6 separate regions of the Homo sapiens genome follow, and regions 1, 2, 3, 4 and 5 are each linked to region 6. The links are contacts of gene promoters, found by promoter capture Hi-C in blood cells and fetal thymus (Javierre and others, 2016). All regions are on one chromosome and are shown on one strand. The core of a region is centred on a gene start or on the middle of the fragment in contact, and the rest is flanking DNA. Distances in the headings are between cores, read along the strand shown. Region 1 has its middle 54 kb from the start of SPPL2A. Region 2 has its middle 71 kb from the start of SPPL2A. Region 3 overlaps AP4E1 (adaptor related protein complex 4 subunit epsilon 1). Region 4 overlaps LOC124903490 (a long non-coding RNA gene). Region 5 has its middle 5.6 kb from the start of AP4E1. Region 6 holds the start of TRPM7 (transient receptor potential cation channel subfamily M member 7).

Region 1 (3,773 bases), core at 1,174-3,673, 130 kb after region 6:
AACTGTTGACCTCAGGTGATCCACCCGCCTCGGCCTCCAAAGTGCTGGGACTACAGGTGTGAGCCACCACGCCTGGCCAGAACAATTTTTGCAATATATTCCAAGGTATCAATAAAATTAATCACTGACAATGCAGAATGTTACATTTGCTAAGCACTACATAGTTTATTTTCAGAGACCACATGTTTTACTTTTTTCTGTATCTCCATTGATAACAGAGGTTGATTCTAAGTTTCTGATGTCCAATATGGCCTATTTTGGCTATTCAGGGCCAGGTCATAACTATGGCTATTCTGCTAGCTATTGTGTCCACCAGCATGACAGGAGAGGCCACTGTCAAAGAAAACAGTGAAAAGAAGTTCAAACAATTTAGTGTTAGAATCAAGTGTGCCTTAACAAAAGCTGTGTGAGTTGGATCACCGGTAGCAGTGATCTTCCTTCCTTCTTTCCTTTCTTTCTCTCTTGTCCTTAGATCTGTTTTTTTGTGTTGCTTTTTTTGTTTTGATTTTTGCTGTTCCAGATTTGTTCATTAATTCTGTAATAGCATTGTTTTGGTCCTTTGGCCAGTTATTAAATATAATCTCTCAGTGCCACATCCACCCTTTCCTAATGTTGTTTTATGATGCTGGAGCTGGGACTATGCAAACCACATTTCTGCTTTGCCAGTTGCTCTCTGAGGTGTTTCCAATAGGGAATATCAGAGAGAGAGAGTGAAAGGCTGGAGGAGGGAGGATGGACTTCCTTCTTTCCTGTTGGATTCCTCCTCTGTATAGCAGTACCCCAGCCTCATTTTTAACTCTGGCTGAGTAAGTTTGATCCAGTAGCAGCAGAGCAGCTATACAGTCCAGGTTACAGTCACAGTTTGCTTAATACTTGCAGAACTAACCTCATCACACCCCCTCAAATACCTAATATCAGCTGGTCAGCACCACTTCCTTAGAGATTTTGGTCGTAATTCCATGGAGGCCCTTCTCTGAGCAAAAAGACCATAGCACCAGCTAAGCAGCGCGTTCTTTTCAGAGATCTGGTACTCAGTTTTTTTGGGCTTCTCCTCCAAGCTTCTAAGTTTTAATTATTCTAGCCTTTTCCCTTTATTCCTCAAGCCCCAGGGATAGAAGCTCCTTTTTATAATCTGTCTATAATCTGTATATCTATCTATAATCTTAGTGTTTTATTTTTCCCTTGTCAGTTCTTGATTACCTAGTTAGCAGTTCTTGAACTCTTTCTGTTAAAGTAAGTAGTATGGTTTCTGGCTCCTAATTAATATAGTTTTGTTTCCTAGATTCTGCAATCTCTTATTTTACTTATTTTTATTTTTAATTTTTTTTGAGATGGAGTTTTGCTCTTGTTGCCCAGGCTGGAGTGCAATGGTGCGATCTCGGTTCACCGCAACCTCTGCCTCCCAGGTTCAAGTGATTCTCCTGCCTCAGCCTCCCTAGTAGCTGGGATTACAGGCATGCGCCACCACGCCCGGCTAATTTTGTGTTTTCAGTAGAGATGGGGTTTCTCCATGTTGGTCAGGCTGGTCACAAACTCCCGACCTCAGGTGATCTGCCCGCCTCGGCCTCCCAAAGTGCTGGGATTACAGGCATGAGCCACCATGCCCGGCCATGCAATCTCTCTTTTACACCTTTTATTATGTTATTTTATCATTTTGTAATAAGTTATTTTATCACAAACATGATAAAACAAACAGCTCTTACATTTTTCTATTCTCTGTGTTATGTTTAGATAGTATTTGGTGTGCCATCCTCCTTTCCTTACTGCTGCTTTCTTTGCTTAGTTTATTTGCATAGTTGCTGTTTCTTTTATCTTGTTAATGCTTATGTTTTTCATAAAGCTTCATTTTATATTGTTCATGTGTAACATGGGCAACTCTTTTCTAGACATTTTTTTTTCTGATAAAAACATGCATGAGTAAATCTCTCAGCACTTTCTCTGCCTATTTGATAAGTATTTATGTTTTTCTACAGCTACAGTTTTAGGAAAAGATAACAGGAACAGATTTATTAAGGTGCAGGAAATGAGAAATGAATGCACTATATTTTCTTATCATAGGATCTCAGAAATGGTTACATGATGAAGTATCTCTTTGCTGGGCAATGACCTTTCCTAATTTTAGAAATCTGTCTGCAAATATGAATCATGCTGAACAGAGTATGGTCATGTTTTTATCAAAAGAATGGACAATTAAGGACAACTTGTATTAAGTGTATAACTAAGTAATATTCATTTTAAAAACCTTTTATTTTATCTTTCAGATTGCAAAAATCAGGTAATCTGAAGACAGAAAAAAATGTACTGTGTCACCTTACTATCTTTGGTACTGCTAATTGGATCAGGGCTGTGGACATTGGACCGTGGTCAGAGATCTATGATAGTCTTGTGGGCAAGCTCTGCCCCGCAAAGACCCCTCAATATTGCATAGTAAATGCCCCAAATAATCAGGTACTCTTTTTGAAGACATTTCAAGTTGAGACATAAGGGAAATAGTTTGGTAGTAGTAGGAATAGTGGAAGCAGAGTTAAAGAATATCCAAGTCTCTTTAAAAGCAGAGTACCTGAAGAGGGATTGAGAAGTTAATATTACTTTGATGATGACAGTGCAACAAAATGTCTTATACCTTAAGAGATTCTAGTTCTGAAACTATGTGTCAGTCTTCATAATCCATTTTATCTCTCAATAAGCCACCATTAGTTAAGGTAATTGAAAACTTAAAAGATTGTAACTTACAAAGACATTTAACTTGTTTCTGATTTTTCAGTCTTGCATATGAATAACTTCATGTACATAGTTTTAATCTTCTGTTGAATTAGTTCTACAGCATAAACTCCTAGAAGTGGCCTTAGGGTTTCAAGAAAAACATTGTGGTTTTTGCCACCTATGTTGCCATATTACTTTCCAAAAGGATTGTAACAATTTATCAGCAGGATTTGAGTATGGATTTCACTGTAATCTCATGTGTTGATTTTTTTTCCTAATTTTAAGAATATATAATTATGCCCTCAAAGCTTTCTTAGTTTACATGTTTTTGATACATATCAAATATTGTTGAGGCCGGGTGCGGTGGCTCACGCCTATAATCTGAGCACTTTGGGAGGCCAAGGCGGGCTGATCACTTGAGGCCAGGAGTTAGAGACCAGCCTGGCCAACATGGTGAAACCCTGTCTCTACTAAAAAAAAATACAAAAATTAGCCAGGTGTGGTGGCACATGCCTGTAATCCTAGCTACTCAGGAGACTGAGGTAGGAGAATCACTTGAACCCGGGAGGTGGAGGTTGCGGTGAGCTGAAATTGCACCATTGCACTCCAGCCTGGGTGACAGAGTGAGACCCTTTCTCAATCAATCAATAAATGAATAAATAAATAAACAAAAAACCATAAATATTGTTGAGAAAATTTTGATGAACTTTATGCAGACCTAAAAGTCCTCACGCCCTACGGACCAGCAGATGCAACTTAAAACATGTAAATTGATGACGTTAGAGTTAGCAATGTGTAAATCTTAGATTGAATTTCTAGTGGTTGTGAACTTGAAAACAAAGGCCCGATTAAACGTAGACCACAATATGAGATTGACAGGCTTCTGCTTGGACTAGACGTGACCTCATCAGTGCTTCAACAAAAGGCCATTATTCATTGCATTAATTTCAATGTGAGGATTAGCTTTTATTCCAAATGATCTCAGAAAGTTTTGATCTTTAGACCAATTTTCTACTTGAACCCAATCTATAAATGCCAAGCTAATGCTTCTACTATGATATAGCTGTCAC
Region 2 (3,858 bases), core at 644-3,143, 150 kb after region 6:
AAGGACATTAACTTATAGAAGAAATTAGATGAGTTTTAGATGAGTTGTTTTGTAGAATGTCCCACATTCTGAATTTGTCTGCTCTCTCATAGTATCATCCAACATATCCCTCTAAGACCTATTCCCAGTAAGTGGAAACTAGGTTAACTGAGTCTCAGAATATTGGTAGTTTCAATATTTTTGACAAAAATAGTTCAAAGTTGGTGCCATGTATTGTATTTTATATTGTATCATCTCAGGAAGTCTAGCATGTCTGTGTCATTATAAGTGATGCTAAGATTGATCAGAAGGTTCAAGTGGTAATGTCTGATCCTTTTATTGTAAAGTTCTCAATCTTTAATTTAGTAGTTTTAGCCATTGATGAGGTTTGCCTGTTGTATCGACTATTTCATTATGTTGTAAAATAGAAAATTTATAATGTATTTTTCCTTTAATTTATTAACTGGAGTTCTTTTATAAAGAACTTTCCCTCATTAAGTATTTGGTTACTCTGAAGTATACTTCACTCAGGAAAGGCAGGATTAATTCTCAATTATTTTTAATTGCCAATTTTTCAAAGTAAGTATTGTACCCTAGGTTTTAATAGTGTCCAGTGTTTGCATGGGTGTGTATTTGCTTTTCCTTGTTTACTTTTACTTTTTGATTCTGTAACACTGTGAACTCATGGATTTTTATATATTCAGTATGTTTAAATCAAATGTAGTCAATATCCTTTTTGTTGTTGTTGTTGTTTTGAGACAAGGTCTCACTCTGTCTCCCAGGCTGCAGTGAAGTGGCATGATCATGGCTCACTATAGCCTCCGTTTCCTGGGCTCAAGTGATCCTTCCACCTCAGCCTCCCGAGTAGCTGGGACTACAGGCATGTGCCACACCTGGCTAACTTTTGTGTTTTTTTGTAGAGATGGAGTTTCACCATGTTGCCTAGGCCAGTTTCGTACTCCTGGGCTCAAGTGATCAGTCTGCCTCAGCCTCCCAGAGTGCTGGGATTATGGACGTGAGCCACTGTGCCCAGGCCCAATATTCCTTTTGATGTTCACTTTTTTCCTATATTTGGCCAATAGAAGCTTCTCTATGTTTTTATTTTATTTTTCCCAAATAAGAAAGTTTAGTTATTTTTTTAATGAGTAACTGAGACAGTAAACTGCCTGCTTTAAATGTCTGAAGAAGTCTTTATTTTGACTTCATTATTGATAGATAGATAGATAGATAGATAGATAGATAGATAGATAGATAGATGTTATAACCTTACCATTGTTTTTCTGCAGCACTTCAAATATATTAATCCATGGCTGGGCATGGTGGCTCAGTCTTGTAATCCCAGCACTTTGGGAGGCTAAGGCAGGCGGATCACCAGAAGTCAGGAGTTTGAGACCAGCTTAACCAACATGGTGAAACCCGGTCTCTACTGAAAATACAAAAATTAGCCAGGCGTGGTGGTAAGCACCTGTAATCCCAGTTACTTGGGAGGCTGAGGCAGGAGAATCGCTTGAACCTGGGAAGTGGAGGTTGCAGTGAGCCGAGATTGCACCATTGCACTCCAGCTTAGGCAACAAGAGCGGGACTCCGTCTCAAAAAAAAAAAAAAGATATTAATCTGCTACCAATTCCCATACCTGTATAACCTCACCCACTATGGACATCCTACACCACAGGAGTACATTTGTTACAATCAATGAACCTGCACTGACACATCATTTTCACTGTAAATCCTTAGTTTACATTAGGATTCATTCTTGGTGTTGTACCTTCCATGGGTTTTGATGAATATATAATGACAGGTATCCACAATTGTAGTATCATACAGAAGAGTTTCACTACCCTAAAAATCTTTTGTGCTCTGCCTATTATCGTTCCCTCCCTGCAACTCCTGATCTTTTTACTGTCTCCAAAGTTTTACCTTTTTCAGAATATCACATAGTTGGAATTATACAGTATATATCCTGTTCAGACTGGCTTTTTTTTTCTTAGTATTAAGTTGGTGCAAAAGTAATTGTGGTTTGGGACCGTGAATTTTGAATCATTATACCTAGGCTGAAACACATCTTTATTAATCAAAATGGGAATTATTACAATCAATACATTTTTGCCAACGAGAAATAATTTTGTTTATTCCTGTAGTGTAAAATCCGTGCTTTGGGATTCAACAAACTCTTGGAAAGCATTTTCTGCATCCTGCTGGCTGTGGAAGCATTTTCCCCGCAAAAAGTTGTCCAGATGCTTGAAGAAGTGGTAGTCGGTTGGTGAGAGGTTAGGTGAATATGGAAGACTAGGCAAAACTTTGTAGCCCAATTCGTTCAACTTTTGAAGCATTGGTTGTGCAATGTACGGGGGGCATTGTCATGGAGAAGAGTTGAGTCCTTTCTGTTGTCCAATGCCAGCTGCAAGCATTGCAGTTTTCGGTGCATCTCATTGATTTGCTGAGCATAATTCTCAGATGTAATGGTTTCGCCGGGAATTTGAAAGCTGTAGTGGATTAGACCGGTAGCAGACCACCAAACAGTGACCATGACCTTTTTATGGTGCAAGTTTGGCTTAGGAGTTGCTTTGGGACTTTTTCTCAGCGCAGCCACTGAGCTGGTCGTCACTGGTCGTTGTATAAAATCTACTTTTCAATGCATGTCACAATCCGATCAAGAAATGGTTCATTGTTGCATAGGATAAGAGAAGATGACACTTTAAAATGATTTTTTTGATTTTCGCTCAGCTCATGAGGCACCCACTTATCAAGCTTTTTCACCTTTCCAATTTGCATCAAATGCCGAACAACCACAGAATGGTCGATGTTGAGTTCTTCGGCAACTTCTCTTGTAGGTGTAAGAGGATCAACTTTGATGATTGCTCTCCATTGGTAGTTGTCAACTTCCAATGGCCAGTGACGACGCTCCTCATGTTCAAGGTTCTCCCTTGCAAAACTTCTTGAATCACCACTGCACTGTACTTTCGTTAGCAGTTCCTGGGCCAAATGCATTGTTGATGTTGAGAGTCTTCTTCCCTGCTATATGACCCATTTCGAACTCAAAAAAGAAAATCACTTGAATTTGCTTTTTGTCTAACATCATTTCCATACTTTAAAATAAACATAAAACAAAGAGCACATAATAAGTCATTAGCAAAAAACAAAAACAAAAACATAAAGCAAGAAATTCCCATTAAAATGATGTATAACATAACCACATTTATTTAAGAATGTATTCTAATATCAAACGGCAAATTCCAACAATGCAAAAACCGCAATTACTTTTGCACTCACCTAATAATATGCATTTAAGTTTCCTCCATGTCTTTTAGTGGCTTGATAGCTCACTTCTTAAAGTGCTGAAAAATTCATTGTTTGGAATTACAACAATTTATCCATTACCTACTGAAGGACAGCTTGGTTGCTTCCAAGTTTTGGCAATTATGAATAAAGCTGTTATAAACATCCGCATACAAGTTTTTGTGTGAACATAAGCTTTCACTTCCTTTGGGTAAATACCATGGAGCATGATTGCTGAATTGTACAGTTAAGAGTACATTTAGTTTTCTAAGAAACTGCTGAATTCTTTTCCAAAGTGGCCATACCATTTTGCATTCCCACCAGCAATGAAGGAGAGTTCCTGTTGCTCCACATCCAGAGTTTGGTGTTGTGTTTTGGCCATTATAATAGGTGTGTAATGGTATATATTTGTTGTTTTAATTCATAATTTCCTAAGGATATATAATGTTGAATACCTTTTCATATGCTTCCTTGTCATCTGTGTATCTTCTTTGGTGAGGAATCTGTTTAAATCTTTTACTCCTTTTTAAATTGGGTTGTTTTCTTGTTGTTGAGCTTTAAAAGTTCTTTATATATGTGTCTTTTGCAAATATTTTCTCCTGG
Region 3 (3,367 bases), core at 587-3,086, 240 kb after region 6:
TAGCCAGATTTTCCCCTGCGAAATGATTCCAGCTGTTCTTCCATTAATAGAAGATAAACTTCAACATTCTAAGTAAGTAAATTCTTTTGGGATAGGCATCTATGCCATATATTTCAAAACAGAAGTTTATGCTAGAAAATTTATTACAACTTCAGTGCTACCAGGATAGAGATTATTTGACTGCTAGGAATAATACAAAAATCTTCAATAGGATCATCTTTATTTTTATGTGGGTTTAGGGAAATGTTAGACAGCTTTCTAAAGTTAGACTAAGAGACAGTGAGGCCTAGTATCCAGGAATCCTTGGCTTGCCTCCCATTTCTACCACTAATGAGCAGTGGTCTTGTTTTTCCTTGGCTATATGGGGTTGGTTGAAGCTCCTTAGTTCTACCAAAGTTGTTTTGGGGATAAAGTGAAATAATGAAAAACATATGGAAATTGTGCAAGTGTTGTGAATGCAAAGCTTCAGTGTAGTGGGAAGATGCTTTTTTTTTTTTTTTGAGACAGAGTCTCACTCCGTTGTCCAGGCTGGAGTGCAATGGCATGAACTTGGCTCACTGCAACCTCTGCCTCCCGGGTTCAAGCAATTCTCCTGCCTCAGCCTCCCATGTAGCTAGGATTACAGGTGCCTGCCACCATGCCCGACTAATTTTTTTTTTTTTTTTTAATAGAAACTGGGTTTGGCCAGGCTGGTCTCGAACTCCTGACCTCAGGTGATCCACCTGCCTCGGCCTCCCAAAGTGCTGGGATTACAGGTGTGAACCACCATGCCCGGCCCGGGAAGATGCTTTTTATATCAAAACCACAGCATTTTAATCCTATTTTACAGCAGAATGTTTCCAAGCTTAATTTACTTTGTAGTATTTTGCTAATCTTCTCTTGTAAATTTCCTTAACTGTCTCCTTATCAGACTGACTTACTTTTCACTGTATTTGAATTATTAATATTTTGTTTTTGACCAAGCCCCTTTATGTCATAATTTTAATTAATTAATTAATTAATTTTTTTGAGACAGAGTCTCACTCTGTTGCCTAGGCTGGAGTGCGGTGGAGTGATCTCGGCTCACTGCACGCTCCACCTCCCAGGTTTAAGCAGTTCTCTGCCTCAGCCTCCTGAGTAGCTGGAATTACAGGAACACGCCACCATGCCCAGCTAATTTTTTGTATTTTTAGTGGAGGCAGGGTTTCACCATCTTGGCCCGGCTGATCTTGAACTCCTGACCTTGTGATTCACCTGCCTCGGCCTCCCAAAGTGCTGAGATTACACATGTGAGCCACTGCGCCTGGCCCATAATTTTTAAAGTTGGAAAAGGTTTGCAATCATTGTGATTATGGTATGTCAGTTATATATTCTTGATGAAGATTTTTTTGTTACTCATACAACATTTATTTTACATACTTTAAATCAGTATTTTTAATGTTCTGAGATTGCAAAATGTTGTTTTATAGCTTGTATTCTTTTTTTTTTTTGAGATGGAGTCTTGCTCGGTCGCCCAGGCTGGAGTGCAGTGGTGTGATCTTGGCTCACTGCAACCTCTGCCTCCCGGGTTCAAGCTATTCTTCTGCCTCAGCCTCCTGAGTAGTTGGAACTACAGGCGCCCGCCACTATGCCTGGCTAATGTTTTAGTAGAGACAGTGTTTCACCATATAGGCCAAGCTGGTCTCGAACTCCTGACCTCGTGATCCACCTGTCTTGGCCTCCCAAAGTGCTGGGCTTACAGGCGTGAGCCACCATGCCCGGCCAACTTGTATACTTTAAGAAATATTGAATCATGAATCTTCCAGCTAAAATGATAGCTTTTACTAAGAATTACAGAATAACTTCATAGGTCTTTCAGACTTTTTATGTATTGTATATCATATCTGTGTTTAGAACGAAGGATGATTATGGACAATTAATTATTGGAAATATTTGCTTTTTTGAGATTTATAAGGTGATCTGATTATAAAAGCAGCATATTTTTGCTTAACTTTTCCTTACCACTACTTTTGTGGTGACCTTACTTACTGACCATTTGTATGAAATCCTTCTGAGAATTGAAAGGTCCCGTTTCAATTTTTTTCTTTATTGCTTTGTGTTTAGTCTAATTTCAAGTCCTGGCTAGAGTTTAGACTTTTTGAAACTCAGCTTTTGCAGTTATGGCCATACTCAGCCCCATGCTCTGGAGTAAAGAGCTGACGAATATGAGGCAGAGCTATAGGTAAGCCAGTAGATGTCACAAAGAATATTTGAAATAAGGCTTGAATTCAACTTTTGAATCCCTGGTTGTATTTCAGCATACCAACCCCAGAGCCTGAATCTAGGTCTCTCGTCTTATGTTAGTACCACCACTTGAGGCCAGGCCTGTGAACTCCTGGGCCTATTCAGAGTTTTTTTTTTTTTTTTCCTCACTTCATTTACCTATTCTCCCCCAGAATTAATATCAGTTAACACGCAATGGCAATACACTGTGACGTGGCTTGCATTCACCACAGTATTAATACTAACAGTAAATCTGTTATTAATCTGCCTTTCTTTTCTTTTCTTTTTTTTTTTGTGAAGAGTTTTCCGTTATGGCATAGCTTGCCTAGGAAGATAAGAGTTGTTTATTAATGGAATTTGTATGACCACTTATTAAGAATCTTATAAAAGGAGTTCTTGAGTGGAACACAAAGGATTGCACTGAATAGTCTCAGTCTTGAGATTCTACGACAGAAATATCTGTTAAGGAACCCTAAAAGTAAATACTTCACTTTTGTGATGTTTGCTGCTGTTCTGAGCACTGCCAGCATAGTCTGCAAATAACAGATATGTAGAAATAGACAAGAGAGAGAATTTCTAACAAGGAAGAAGCTTCCTTGGAAACTACATCATGAACATAGGATGGCATTTCTTTATTTTTGCTTCTGTGTGCTAGATGTTATCTGCTACAGATGAAGTGCAAAACTAGTATATACTTTTCTCTTTATTATCATGAGGTTTTGAAACAGATGAACTGGGCAAAGAGAGGAATAACATCTTTTTATTCCATGTGTGTCCTTGTATTCCTCCCCTCTGTCCCCCAGAATATTTGGAGTCTGCTATCCAGTGATATATATATATAAAAAAGAAACATAGAAAGCTACTATTTTAGGGTGAGAATGTTAACGAGTTTTTTTTCTTTTCTTTCCTTTTTAATTTGAGACTGAGTCTTACTCTGTCACCAGGTTGGAGTGCAGTGGCACAACCTTGGCTCACTGCAACTTCTGCCTCCCAGGTTCAAGCGATTCTTGTGCCTCAGCCACCCAAGTAACTGGAACTACAGGTGTGCACCACCACACCTGGCTAATTTTTGTATTTTTAGTAGAGACAGGGTTTCGCCATGTTGGCCAGGCTGGTTTTGAACTCC
Region 4 (3,593 bases), core at 836-3,335, 170 kb after region 6:
ACTTCAGAGACTGGCAACATAAATGTTGCTTAACTTGTTCAGATGAACATGAAGGTAGAGGCTACCGCCTTAGGATTCTGAACCTGCAAGTGAGGTCAGACCTCAGAAGTCATCAAGTCCTAGTTTTGAGGCCCATGGGATGGCCTGGAATTTTTGTTTGTTTTTTCTTTCTGTTGGCCATTGAGCACAAGCAGAGAACTGACGGCTGTGAAAGCTGCCTAGAGGCCTGACAGCAAGGGTTTTACCTGAACTATTTGGTAGAGAAAGTCCAGTCTTCCCCAGCTAACAGAAGAGGGCCTCTCTTCACTAGCACCTTGCCTAACCTTTAGATAAGTCACCTACATTCAATTTTGCATAAAGTGGTTGATTTCAGAGCAGCCAAAGCAGAAGTGAAATCAACTTGGTGTATCTCAAGACAACACTACATGGAAAGACCTTTCCTGGTGCTCACAGTGGGGTAACAGAGATTAGGTTCGCCTGAGATGAGATGGATGTGATATGAAAGAGAAGGAACACTCAAGAAAAAAGAAAGGGATGAGTCATGGAATACTTTTGGAATATGAAAACAGAAATAGTTTACCTCCTCTATGGTTTTATCTGAGGAGCTTGAAGATGTAGAATATTTAGCTCCCAACTTTAGCTCACTATCCTGGTTTCTACCCCAATGCTAGATTCTGAAACAGTCTTGTGAGAGTAAAAGTCCAGGATGTAATATGGTCTGCTCTGCCCTTATCCAGGCTCAAAGAAAGACATCTTATATGTGTGTGTCAGAAGATTGAGGATTGGTTGGTAATCTTTACACAGGAGCCTAGGTCTGCAAGTGGGCTTATGTGGCTCTCTTTAATTACAAAGTAGACTAGGTATTAGCAATTACCCTACTCAAGAAATTCCACTAAAGAGTCTCGTCCTTAACAGGATTGCTGTTCCGTGTAGGCCACTCTTCCTTCTGTGAATCCCAGCCCAAGTCTTGGTGGTGATTCCTCCTCCAGCCCCTTCATCCTTTCAATTTCCACACCTGGTATCTACCAAAAACACACTTCTGAGCTTTTGCAGAGTGCCCCTTTATTTCACGGAGGCGGGAAGCTTGTAGATGGGAATGTGTGTTGCTCTAAATTAATTTCCTACACATGTTCCCTCATGTGCACAGAGCATTTGCATTTTAAGCAAATCTTTTCTCTCTCTCTCTCTCTCTCTCTCTATATATATATATATATACATATATATATATACATATATATATACATATATATATATACATATATATATATATACACATATATACATATATATATATATATATATTTTTTTTTTTTTTTTTTTTTTTTTTGAGACAGAGTCTTGCTCTGCCACCCAGGCTAGAGTGCAGTGGCACAATCTCAGCTCACTGCAAGCTCCGCCTCCTGGGTTCACACCATTCTCCTGCCTCAGCCTCCCGAGTAGCTGGGACTACAGGCACCCACCACCACGCTTGGCTAATGTTTTGTATTTTTAGTAGAGACAGGGTTTCACTGTGTTAGCCAGGATGGTCTTGATCTCCTGACCTTGTGATCCACCCGCCTCAGCCTCCCAAAGTGCTGGGATTACAGGCGTGAGCCACCGTGCCCGGCCTATCTTTTCTCTATTTTATTGGTCATAGTATAATTTTACCTGCAATACAAATATAACAGTGATTACATTTTCTTTCTAGTAATTGGCTGTAGGAATCACATACTCTTATTAAACTCTTCCTGTCAGTTTATACTGCACAATAACTTTAGTTTATCACAGTGCCTACATGCAATGCTACCTGATACCCGCTCCTGGAAAAGAATTTTGTTCTGTTGTGCTTACTTTGCTCTTTTCTGTACAAACTCCCTTTTATGTACTTTTATGATTTATTGGCATTATGCAGCCCTCTATCCTCCTTTCCCGACCGGGCTCAGAAACTTGGGAGTGATGTGCGTTCTCTCCCTTTCTAGTTGACTCTTTCCTGGCTCCTTTACTCTTCCTTCTCCCCATCTCCTGCTTTCCTGTCACTGGCTTCTCCAATCTGCTTTTTCCTCTTGCTCCCCCTTTGCCCAGTCTTATAGCACCCTCTAAGAAATGTGTTTTGCCGAAGGAAGGTCTCTGTACACTGTTATTACTTTCTTCTTTGACTGTGTTTTTAGTTTTTGTGTCATTTCTGGGAACTCTGCTACAATAACATTCCATGAAGGAAAGCTGAACACTAGGGAAATGAGAGAGGAAGCTGGGGAAAGAAAGAGCAGAGGGAAGATGGAGAGGGGCTCAGGGAGGACCCCAAACAAGTTAACATGAGGCATCTTGGAGTGAACTCTACAAATAAAGACACTTTTTACAATGTTTTACTGTTTACAAAGTAGTTTTCATATGTTACCTGATTATCTGGTAACAAATATAGGCATGCTTCTTAACATTTTGCAGATGAAGAGACTGGAGCTATAAATTAAGAATAATATAAACTGTGATGATGCAGCTTATAAAAGCAGAGTTGGGATTTGAGGCTTCTGACTTCAGCTCTCTTTCTCTTTCCACTATTCCACAATGCCAGGAAGATGAAGGAGTTGAACTCCGGGAGAATTCAAGTCACCTTTCACAAGGCTATGTTTTCCATAGGTTCAAAAAACCAAAAAATCCAGACTTATGCTCTAGTTTATCATGATTAATTTTTCTTGTGGTAAGAAAATAATTTAACCATTAGGTTTGTTTGTCGTAGCAACAAGAAATGAATTACTTTCCAAACTGGGAATATCCCTCTGTAGCCAATGAAAGAATGAGTACAAGTGTGGAGGAGTAAATCTGCATAAAGATAAATATAACTTTAGAAAATTCTTGAGACATTGACAGAGTTTTGGACCTAATTTCTAAATGGGCAGAAAGCTCTCTTTTAGAACAGCTTCTCTGCAATCCTGTGTAGAAGTGGGAAGATGAACATGGAGACTATTCAAGGCAGGGATGGTGGACTTAGTGGGTCATTTTCACTTTTTTGAGTTTCAAAATCTTACAAATTATATTATTTTTGGCTCTTTCTGTGTCTTTGAGAACTGCTCTTTCTACCTTAAATCACCTCCAGAATCACCAGGGCAAACAAGAAGCTTATTTGAACTTCAGGTCTCTAGAAAACAGACTGCTGTGTCATTGCACTTGGAAAGCAATCATTTAAAGATAGTTTTCAGGCAGGTGAAAGACCAGCACAACAAACTGATAAAACTGCCTCTGTCATTTGATCTCCTGCAGCCATTCTGGAGAGAAGACATTCCTGTTAGGAACCTGAGCAAGAAGCTCTGGTCAGGAGACTTCTATTTTATTAGGATCCTGCCCCAAGTTAGAGGTCAAGTTACAACTCCCCTCAAAATTACTCTGTAATAGGCTGCATTACATAGAAAATTCCAACAAAGCACCGGAATGTCTGAGTTAAGAGAGCTCTTTGTACATTAAGAAGAAAAATAAAGTTCAGCAGCATAATCCTATTTCTAAGCCAAATCTGGATAATACTAAAGGACTTCCAAATAACACCATTTAACTATTTGCGAGAATTATGAGTTTGCACTCTGAGCGATGTCCTGTCCCCTGCCCCCCAAACCTCAATAGAAGCA
Region 5 (3,527 bases), core at 421-2,920, 220 kb after region 6:
TTTTACTAGGTTACATTGAAATCATAATTCTATTGAAGCTGTCCTCAAAGGGTTAACAAGAATTCTGGAAGGAAATATAGTTATAATTGAGCATTAATCAGGCTGCACTCTGACCCACTTCCTTGTAACCAAAAGTCAGGTTACACTACATAGAGACCATTTGCGTTCCCATTGTTCCTATTGACAGAATTTCTGACATTAGGCTTTTTTTTTTTTTTTTTTTTGAGATGGAGTCTCTCTCTGTCACCCAGGCTGGAATGCAGTGATGCAATCTTGGCTCACTGCAACCTCTGCCTCCTGGGTTCAAGCGATTCTCCTGCCTCAGCCTCCCGAATAGCTGCGATTACAGGCACCTGCCACCACGCCTAGCTGATTTTTGTATTTTTAGTAGAGACAGGGTTTCACCATGTTGGCCAGGCTGATCTCGAACTCCTGACCTCAGGTGATTTGCCCGCCTTGGCCCAAAGTGCTGGGATTACAGGCATGAACCACCGCACCTGGCCCACTCAACTAATTTTTGTGTTTTTGGTAGAGACGGGGTTTCACCATGTTGGCCTGGCTGGCCTCAAACTCCTGACCTCAAGTGATCTGTCTGCCTTGGCACGGACTCCCAAAGTGCTAGGATTACAGATGTGAGCCACCGCGCCTGGCCAGGGCTTTTAAGATAGATAGGATCTCTGACATTAGAATCATAAAGGGTTTAAGAACTGCTTAAGCAGATCCTGAATTCCACCTGAACAGCTGATGCCAACCAGTTTAAAAACCCCCAGAGAGGAACGGAATCAATAACATCTCCCTGTCCCATGGCTTCACCCTGCACTCTGATCAATCTCTACACTTTGGCCTACTCCCAAACCTTTAAAATCCCTAGCTCCACATTCCTTGGGGAAATGGATTTGAGGTTTTCTCCCATCTCCTCATCTGGCAGCCCTACAATTAAACCTCTTTCTCTGCTACAACCTGGTGTCTTGGCATATTAACTTGTCACATATTGGGCGAAGGGCCCTATTATGGTTACACTATTTGCTTTAAGTGGATGTTTTGCTGGTACATAATTTTATAACATTGTGCATTGATCATTTGGAAAATATTGGTTCATTGAGTTATGGAGATCTTTCAAATGTTGGCACATTTAATTATACAATATAAAAAATTCATTAACATAATCACCAATTTATCAGAATGGTCTTTATGTATCTGGAAATTATTAAAATTGTAGTAGACAAACATTTTTCAAAATTTTAGTTTTCACTTGAAAGCCTGAATTTATCAGTGGCAACAAATATTGTCAGTTATCTTCCTTGAAGTGTGAAGGAAACCAGACTCTGTCACCCCAAAATATTCCTATTTGACATGAATATTATTTTGAGCTGAAGGCAATTAAGCAGCAGCAAAGGCAGGAAACACTCTCTCTACCCTCCTCCTTTTCTGTTTAAAGGCAGGATACAACTTCCTTTACTGGAGGCAACTCTACCATCTTACTAGCCCAGAGGTGGCACCAGAGGAATGTGCACACAAACCTTACTTCATTAGTTTCTTTCCATATATTTTCCTTCCCCAAGATTCCCAGCCCTGGAAGACTAAAACTGCTTTCCTTTGTCCTGTCATTTCTCTATAAGTTTATTGTATTTTGTTAAAGATGCTATATAAGCCAGAGTTTTACCTTCTTTGAATTACTCATTTCTAGTTATTCCTATGTTATATGCTCCATACATTTTAATAAACTTGCTTGTTTTTTTCACAGGGGACCCAGCCAAGAACTTAGAAGGGTAAGAGAAAAAGATTTTTTTCTTTCCCTACAACTGAAAGACTCACTGTTCATTTTCAAGAAAACTACTGTTTATCGCTTTCAACTAAAAATGGTGTTCCATGAAAAAAAGTGGTTGGTTCAGCTTTCTCTTTTCTTTTTTTTTTCTGAGACGTAGTTTCGCTCTGTCGCCCAGGATGGAGTACAGTGGCGCGATCTCGACTCACTGCAAGCTCCGCCTCCCGGGTTCACGCCATTCTCCTGCCTCAGCCTCCCGTGTAGCTGGGACTACAGGCGCGCGCCACCATGCCCGGCTAATTTTTGTATTTTTAGTAGAGACGGGGTTTCACCGTGTTAGCCAGGATGGTCTCGATCTCCTGACCTCGTGATCCGTCCGTCTCGGCCTCCCAAAGTGCTGGGATTACAGGCGTGAGCCACCGCGCCCGGCCTTCTCTTTTCTTTTTTTGAGACGGAGTCTCACTCTGTCGCCCAGGCTGGAGTGCAGTGGCGTGATCTAGGCTCACTGCAAGCTCCGCCTCCCAGGTTCACGCCATTCTCCTGCCTCAGCCTCCAGAATCGCTGGGACTACAGGCGCCCGCCACCACGCCCGGCTAATTTTTTGTATTTTTGGTAGAGACGGGTTTTGCACCGTGTTAACTAGGATGGTATTGATCTCCTGACCTCGTGATCCCCCCGCCTTGGCCTCCCAAAGTGCTGGCATTACAAGCATGAGCCACTGTGCCAGGCCGGTTCAGCTTTCAAGTTAAACAATGATACAAATGCTTTTCCTTGAGAAACTATCTTATCTCAGTTATGCCTCAAGAATTTTTTCTTTTTCTTTTTTTTTTTTTTGAGACGGAGTTTCGCTCTTGTTGCCCAGGTTGAAGTGCAATGGCACGATCTCAGCTCACTGCAACCTCCGCCTCCCGGGTTCAAGTGATTCTCCTGCCTCAGCCTCCCAAGTAGCTGGGATTACAGGCATGTGCCACCACGCGCAGGTAATTTTGCATTTTTAGTAGAGATGGGGTTTCACCACGTTGGCCAGGCTGGTTTCGAACCCCTGACCTCAGGTGCTCTGCCCGCCTCAGCCTCCCAAAGTGCTGGGATTATAGGCCTGAGCCACCACACCCGGCCAAAAGAAAAGCCTCAGGATTTAAGAGTTTATACTTTATGAGGTTGTACTTTATGAGTACTTCCCATTTTGTCACAAAAAAAATTTTTTAAAAAGTGCACTCAAAGACTGAAATTTAATAAAATTAAGAATTCTTACTGCTTCATCAAGGATATTCTTAAGTGAAACTGACTTAAAAAAAATTGAGTGTATTGTTCCAGGATAAACTATGAGATTCAAAGAAGTTGTTCAATACATTATTTCATCACCACTTGTGTTTCTTGTCAAGATTTATGTAAAAGAGGATCTTCAAGAATTAGTTGGTGCTGACACTGGATGGGTATAAGCAAAGCAACAAGTCCAGCTACATGAATAATTATGTCCATTTTAAAGGAATTATAATTCTGCAGATGACATAGTAACTCAGTCTTTATATTTGCAACTAAATTTCTTTCTTTTTTTTGAGACAGTCTTGCTCTGTTGTCCAGGCTGGAGTGCCGTGGCACCATCTCAGCTCACTGTAACCTCTGCCTCCCAGGTTCAAGTGATTCTCCAGCCTCAGCCTCCCGAATAACTGGGATTACAGGCATGTACCACCATGCCCAGCTAATTTTTTTTTTTTGTATTTTTAGTAGAGACAGGGTTTCACCATATTGGCCAGGTTGGTCT
Region 6 (3,983 bases), core at 689-3,188:
TGTAACCTGATTCTAACAAATCAACTGACTAAAACATGAGACAATCAGGGAAATATGCTGAATATTTAATGATACTAAGCAATTATTAATTTTTAGGCATGATAATAATATTGTGGTTATGTTAAAAAGTCCTTGTCTTTTTAGACATAAACACAATAAAGTATCCATAAATGACATTTGTCTGGGATTTGCTTTAAAATTATCCCATTGAGGAATGATAGAAGAAATAAAATTCACATGGTTGAAGCTGTTGAAACTGGCCAATGGGTATATGGTAGTTCATTCTACAATGTATCTTTGCAAGTTTGAAATCTCCCATGTTGGCCTGGCGCGGTGGCTCACGCCTGTAATCCCAGGACTTTGGGGGGCTGAGGCGGGCGGATCACCTGAGGTCAGGAATTAAGAGACGAGCCTGCCAAACATGGTGAAACCCCGTCTCTACTAAAAATGCAAAAATTAGCCGGGCATGGTGGCTACAGTCCCAGCTACTCGGGAGCCTGAGGCAGGAGAATCGCCTGAATCCCGGAGGCGGATGTTGCAGTGAGCGGAGATCGCGCCACTTCACTCCAGCCTGGGCGACAGAGTGAGACCCTGTCTCAAAACAAACAAACAAAAAAGAATAAGGTGGAAAATAGTGAAAGACACATTATTTATTCAAAGTATTACTACATTTGTGTTATAAGTAAAACTCTTATTTTAGTTTTGTATGGCACTTGAATTAGCGTCCAGTGAAAAGCAAACTTGCCAGACTCCAGCAGAGGGAGAGTTGTTTGCATAAAGCCTATCAAATTCAAGTACTGACCAAAAATACCTACTTTGCTCTTCATGTCCCTGATGTAAATGACTTTCTTAAGAAATCTTCAAAATTGGTTCCTGATATCCAAAAATAAAAAGCTCTATCGGAAGCTGCAATGCACCGCCTCCCTCTCTCCATTCCGCACCTTTCGGTTTAAAACACGATCAACTGTTCTCTGGGGCAAGGGATGCGGTAGTTCGACTTAAATCCTGACTGACAGTACATTGTCTTGGTCCCCACAGAAGCCTCCCCCCACCCACCAAAATCCTTAATTCTTGCTAAAGAAAAAAGATCTACCATCAATATTGTCAAATCCCTCCCTTTTGGTTCCAAAAAGGAAATGTACCTGTAGAGTATCCGCTGCACAGCAAACAAGGCACTGCTCCAAACCCGTGTCCTCTACCCCCTTTTTGCACCCTTCTAGCCCTCCCTCCCTTTTTTCCATGTAAAACTTGAGCAGAGCATTTGGTTCCCTTATCTGCCAGCAACTGGCGCCAGGAGGACCGTGCTCCCAGGAGATGCGGAGCTTGTAGGCTGAGCCCTGCGTCGGGCGCGCTGAGGCCGCTCAGCTGAGCCCAGCCAGGTAGTCCCGGGCTCGCGCCTCTGCCGCCTGGAGAGGCCCTCGCTGGGAGCCGAGTCTCGGCTCAGGGGATTCCCGCGAAGAGGTGTCGCCTCTAACTTGCTACCTGCTCCCGCCCCTCACCCCAGAACGAACTGCACACCCGTCCCGAGAGGACAAATCCGGAAGCCTCAAGGCAATTCGAGGGTCCTTCGCCGCATGGAACGCGGCTCCCCACACACTTGCCTGCCAAGTCTCTCCTTTACCGCCCGCAACCCCAGAACCATTCCCCGCCCGGGCCTGCGTGGGTCCAGTACCATTCTCCTCACGGGGCGGACTCCGGAAGGGCAGCAACTCCACCTCCTCCTCCTCCGCGGCCTGTAGCCATCTATCGGGAAGCGTCTCCGGAGGCGGCAGCAGAGGCCGCCGGACAAGGAACGCCCAGGGAAACCTTCTCAGAACTAACTCAGCTCCGGCGCTAGCAGCAGAAGCCGAGTCTTTCATAATTGTGCGACCAACTCCTCCGGGTGACTGGCCACAGGGACGCGCCCGCGCCCGCCTCCGCCGGCGACGGGGCTGGGGACGGACCACGTGAGCGGCGCGGCGCGGCGCGTGCGTCGCCGCCCGCGGGTCGGGTCACGTGAAGGGCGCGCGCTCCCTCGATTCCAGGCCGCCTCCCTGCGCGCCGCGCGCACGCGCTGGGCAGGTTCGCGCCGCCACGCCGACCGCCTCTGGGTTCCCAGAAAGTGGTGGGGTGTTCACGCCGTATCTCCGTTGGGTACCTAGGCGGGACTTAGACAAACTTCAGCCTCAGCTACGAGAGTGGAACTTGGGGAATCGGAGGTTGAGGGTTAAGGTTCAAGGCTTGCGGATCCAGTCTGGAGTTGCTGTGTGGGCTCATTCCGCTAACTAGGCCTGGCCTGTGCCGACTCGCTCCAGCAAACTCGAGTGTCGCAACACACTCTGTGTGCTTCAGAGCGAGTAGAGGCTTTAAATGTTACTCTCTCCTCGTCCAAAATGCAGAATCATCTTTTTACCCCAATCATGTTCTTTCTCTAGCCTCTCCTGTTGCTGCCGGTAAATATTCTTCTTTGTTTAACTATGGGACTGTCTTTTTCCCTCCAGAGATACTCACCCACATACACGCATACACCACACCTTCTGCACCAAAAACTGGGTTGTTCCCTTGATGTAATATGTACCTATCCACCTTTCCATTTATTTTGCTGTCACACATGCCAAGGTTTGGCTATTAGCAATGGTTTACTAAATGTTATTCCTTATCTACTGGGAAGACCACAATCAGTTTAATTTTCTTAAAACTGCTTTAACATCTTTCTGCTCCTGAAGTCTTCGAGAGTTCCTCAATCTGACCCTCAGGGATCTGACTGTCTTATCTCTTTTTTAAAAACGACTTTATTTTAAAATAATTGACATGACAAACTGCACGTATTTAAATGTCCAATTTGATAAGTTTTGACATACCTGTGCACCCATGAAATCACCATAATCAAATGAACGTATTCACCTCTAAGTTTCCTCCCCCCCCTTCATAATCCCTTCATCTCGTCCCTCTCCATCACGTCCCTTATCAACTACAGATCTACTTTCAGTACAGATAAGTTTGCACATGCTAAAGTTTTATATACGGGAATCATACAGCACGCACCTTTTTTTTCCGTCTAACTTCTTTCATTCAGCATAATTATTGCCTCTCAAACATTATGACCCACAATTCACTGAAGTAGGATCTTCTCTCAGAAAAAAAACTAATCCACCCACTGGTTCCCCCAGCTTGTGAACAATCTTCAGGTATTGTGTATTTCTTCCCCATCTGGCAGGTCCAGCAGAACCAAGACTTAAAAATGTTTTAATATATGTGTCACACTAAATTGTCAGCCTTGGGGAAGGCATCTTGACTAATTTATGCATGCAGTCAATAAATGTTTATCTTCTGGATTTCAGTTGGGCCTACACATTTCCTGCCTGTAGGGAGTTTATAATCTAGAAGGTAGAGGCAGACAAACTGGAAAATCAAAATAAAATGAGATTAGAGTGCTTTGTTTCGTTAGAACTTTGTAACTCTGGTCTTTTTGTACTCACGAATGCTTCGCTCCTTAGTTGGATGGTGTAGAAATGAAACAAGATGAGCTCCTTGGCACTTGCCAGAACTCTTTGGTAAATTGGAAAATTTAGAGTTAGAAATGGGGAACAGGATTGGGTGGGCGCGGTGGCTCATGCTTGTAATCCCAGCACTTTGGGAGGCCGAGGCGGGTGGATCACCTGAGGTCAGGAGTTCTAGACCAGCCTGGCCAACACGGTGAAACCCCGTCTCTACTAAAAATACAAAAATTAGCTGGGCATGGTGGCAGGCGCCTGTAATCACAGCTACTCGGGGGGCCGAGGCAGAAGAATCGCTTGAACCCAGGAGGCAGAGGTTGCAGTGAGCCGAGATCGCGCCATCTCACTCCAGCCTGGGGGACAAGAGCAGGACTTCGTCTCAAAAAAAAAAAAAAAAAAAGAAAAAGAAAAGAAATGGGGAACAGGATTTATCCTTAATTGAACTAATCAAAATAAATTCCTTAATTTTCAAGTGATCAACCAGCCTTGAAATTCACAGATGCTGAC

Evidence for each region. The method cuts DNA at HindIII sites, captures the fragments that hold promoters and counts their contacts. A CHiCAGO score of 5 or more calls a contact.
Region 1: a contact is called between a fragment that was not itself captured here and the fragment with the promoter of TRPM7 in region 6, in 4 of 17 cell types (erythroblasts, activated CD4 T cells, megakaryocytes and 1 more). The highest score is 6.6, in erythroblasts.
Region 2: a fragment that was not itself captured here is called in contact with the fragment with the promoter of TRPM7 in region 6 in 2 of 17 cell types (erythroblasts and megakaryocytes); the score reaches 6.3 in erythroblasts.
Region 3: a contact is called between a fragment that was not itself captured here and the fragment with the promoter of TRPM7 in region 6, in 12 of 17 cell types (M1 macrophages, total CD8 T cells, M0 macrophages and 9 more). The highest score is 12.4, in M1 macrophages.
Region 4: a contact is called between a fragment that was not itself captured here and the fragment with the promoter of TRPM7 in region 6, in 2 of 17 cell types (activated CD4 T cells and erythroblasts). The highest score is 5.3, in activated CD4 T cells.
Region 5: a fragment that was not itself captured here is called in contact with the fragment with the promoter of TRPM7 in region 6 in 17 of 17 cell types (activated CD4 T cells, naive CD4 T cells, total CD8 T cells and 14 more); the score reaches 18.2 in activated CD4 T cells.

The regions. Positions count from the first base shown.
Region 1 is chr15:50,817,440-50,821,212 of GRCh38, forward strand. No RefSeq gene overlaps it. Among named protein-coding and RNA genes, the nearest start is that of SPPL2A, 54 kb to the left of the region's middle. The HindIII fragment of the contact is 1,171 bases long and covers 1,839-3,009 here.
Region 2 is chr15:50,834,534-50,838,391 of GRCh38, forward strand. No RefSeq gene overlaps it. Among named protein-coding and RNA genes, the nearest start is that of SPPL2A, 71 kb to the left of the region's middle. The HindIII fragment of the contact is 1,663 bases long and covers 1,063-2,725 here.
Region 3 is chr15:50,925,148-50,928,514 of GRCh38, forward strand. AP4E1 (adaptor related protein complex 4 subunit epsilon 1) reads left to right here. Exons shown (of 21, transcript NM_007347.5): 5 at 1-72. Among named protein-coding and RNA genes, the nearest start is that of AP4E1, 18 kb to the left of the region's middle. The HindIII fragment of the contact is 1,988 bases long and covers 843-2,830 here.
Region 4 is chr15:50,854,771-50,858,363 of GRCh38, forward strand. All of the region lies in intron 1 of LOC124903490 (a long non-coding RNA gene), which reads right to left. Among named protein-coding and RNA genes, the nearest start is that of AP4E1, 52 kb to the right of the region's middle. The HindIII fragment of the contact is 2,009 bases long and covers 1,082-3,090 here.
Region 5 is chr15:50,901,276-50,904,802 of GRCh38, forward strand. No RefSeq gene overlaps it. Among named protein-coding and RNA genes, the nearest start is that of AP4E1, 5.6 kb to the right of the region's middle. The HindIII fragment of the contact is 4,281 bases long and covers 1-3,527 here.
Region 6 is chr15:50,684,859-50,688,841 of GRCh38, forward strand. TRPM7 (transient receptor potential cation channel subfamily M member 7) reads right to left here and starts at 1,939. Exons shown (of 39, transcript NM_017672.6): 1 at 1,673-1,939. The coding sequence starts at 1,675. It overlaps LOC128092252, which reads right to left and starts at 1,859. Exons shown (of 4, transcript NM_001414947.1): 1 at 1,673-1,859. The coding sequence starts at 1,859. RefSeq lists enhancers at 1,027-1,891, 1,421-1,840, 2,151-2,330 and a silencer at 1,891-2,060. The HindIII fragment of the contact is 16,005 bases long and covers 1-3,983 here.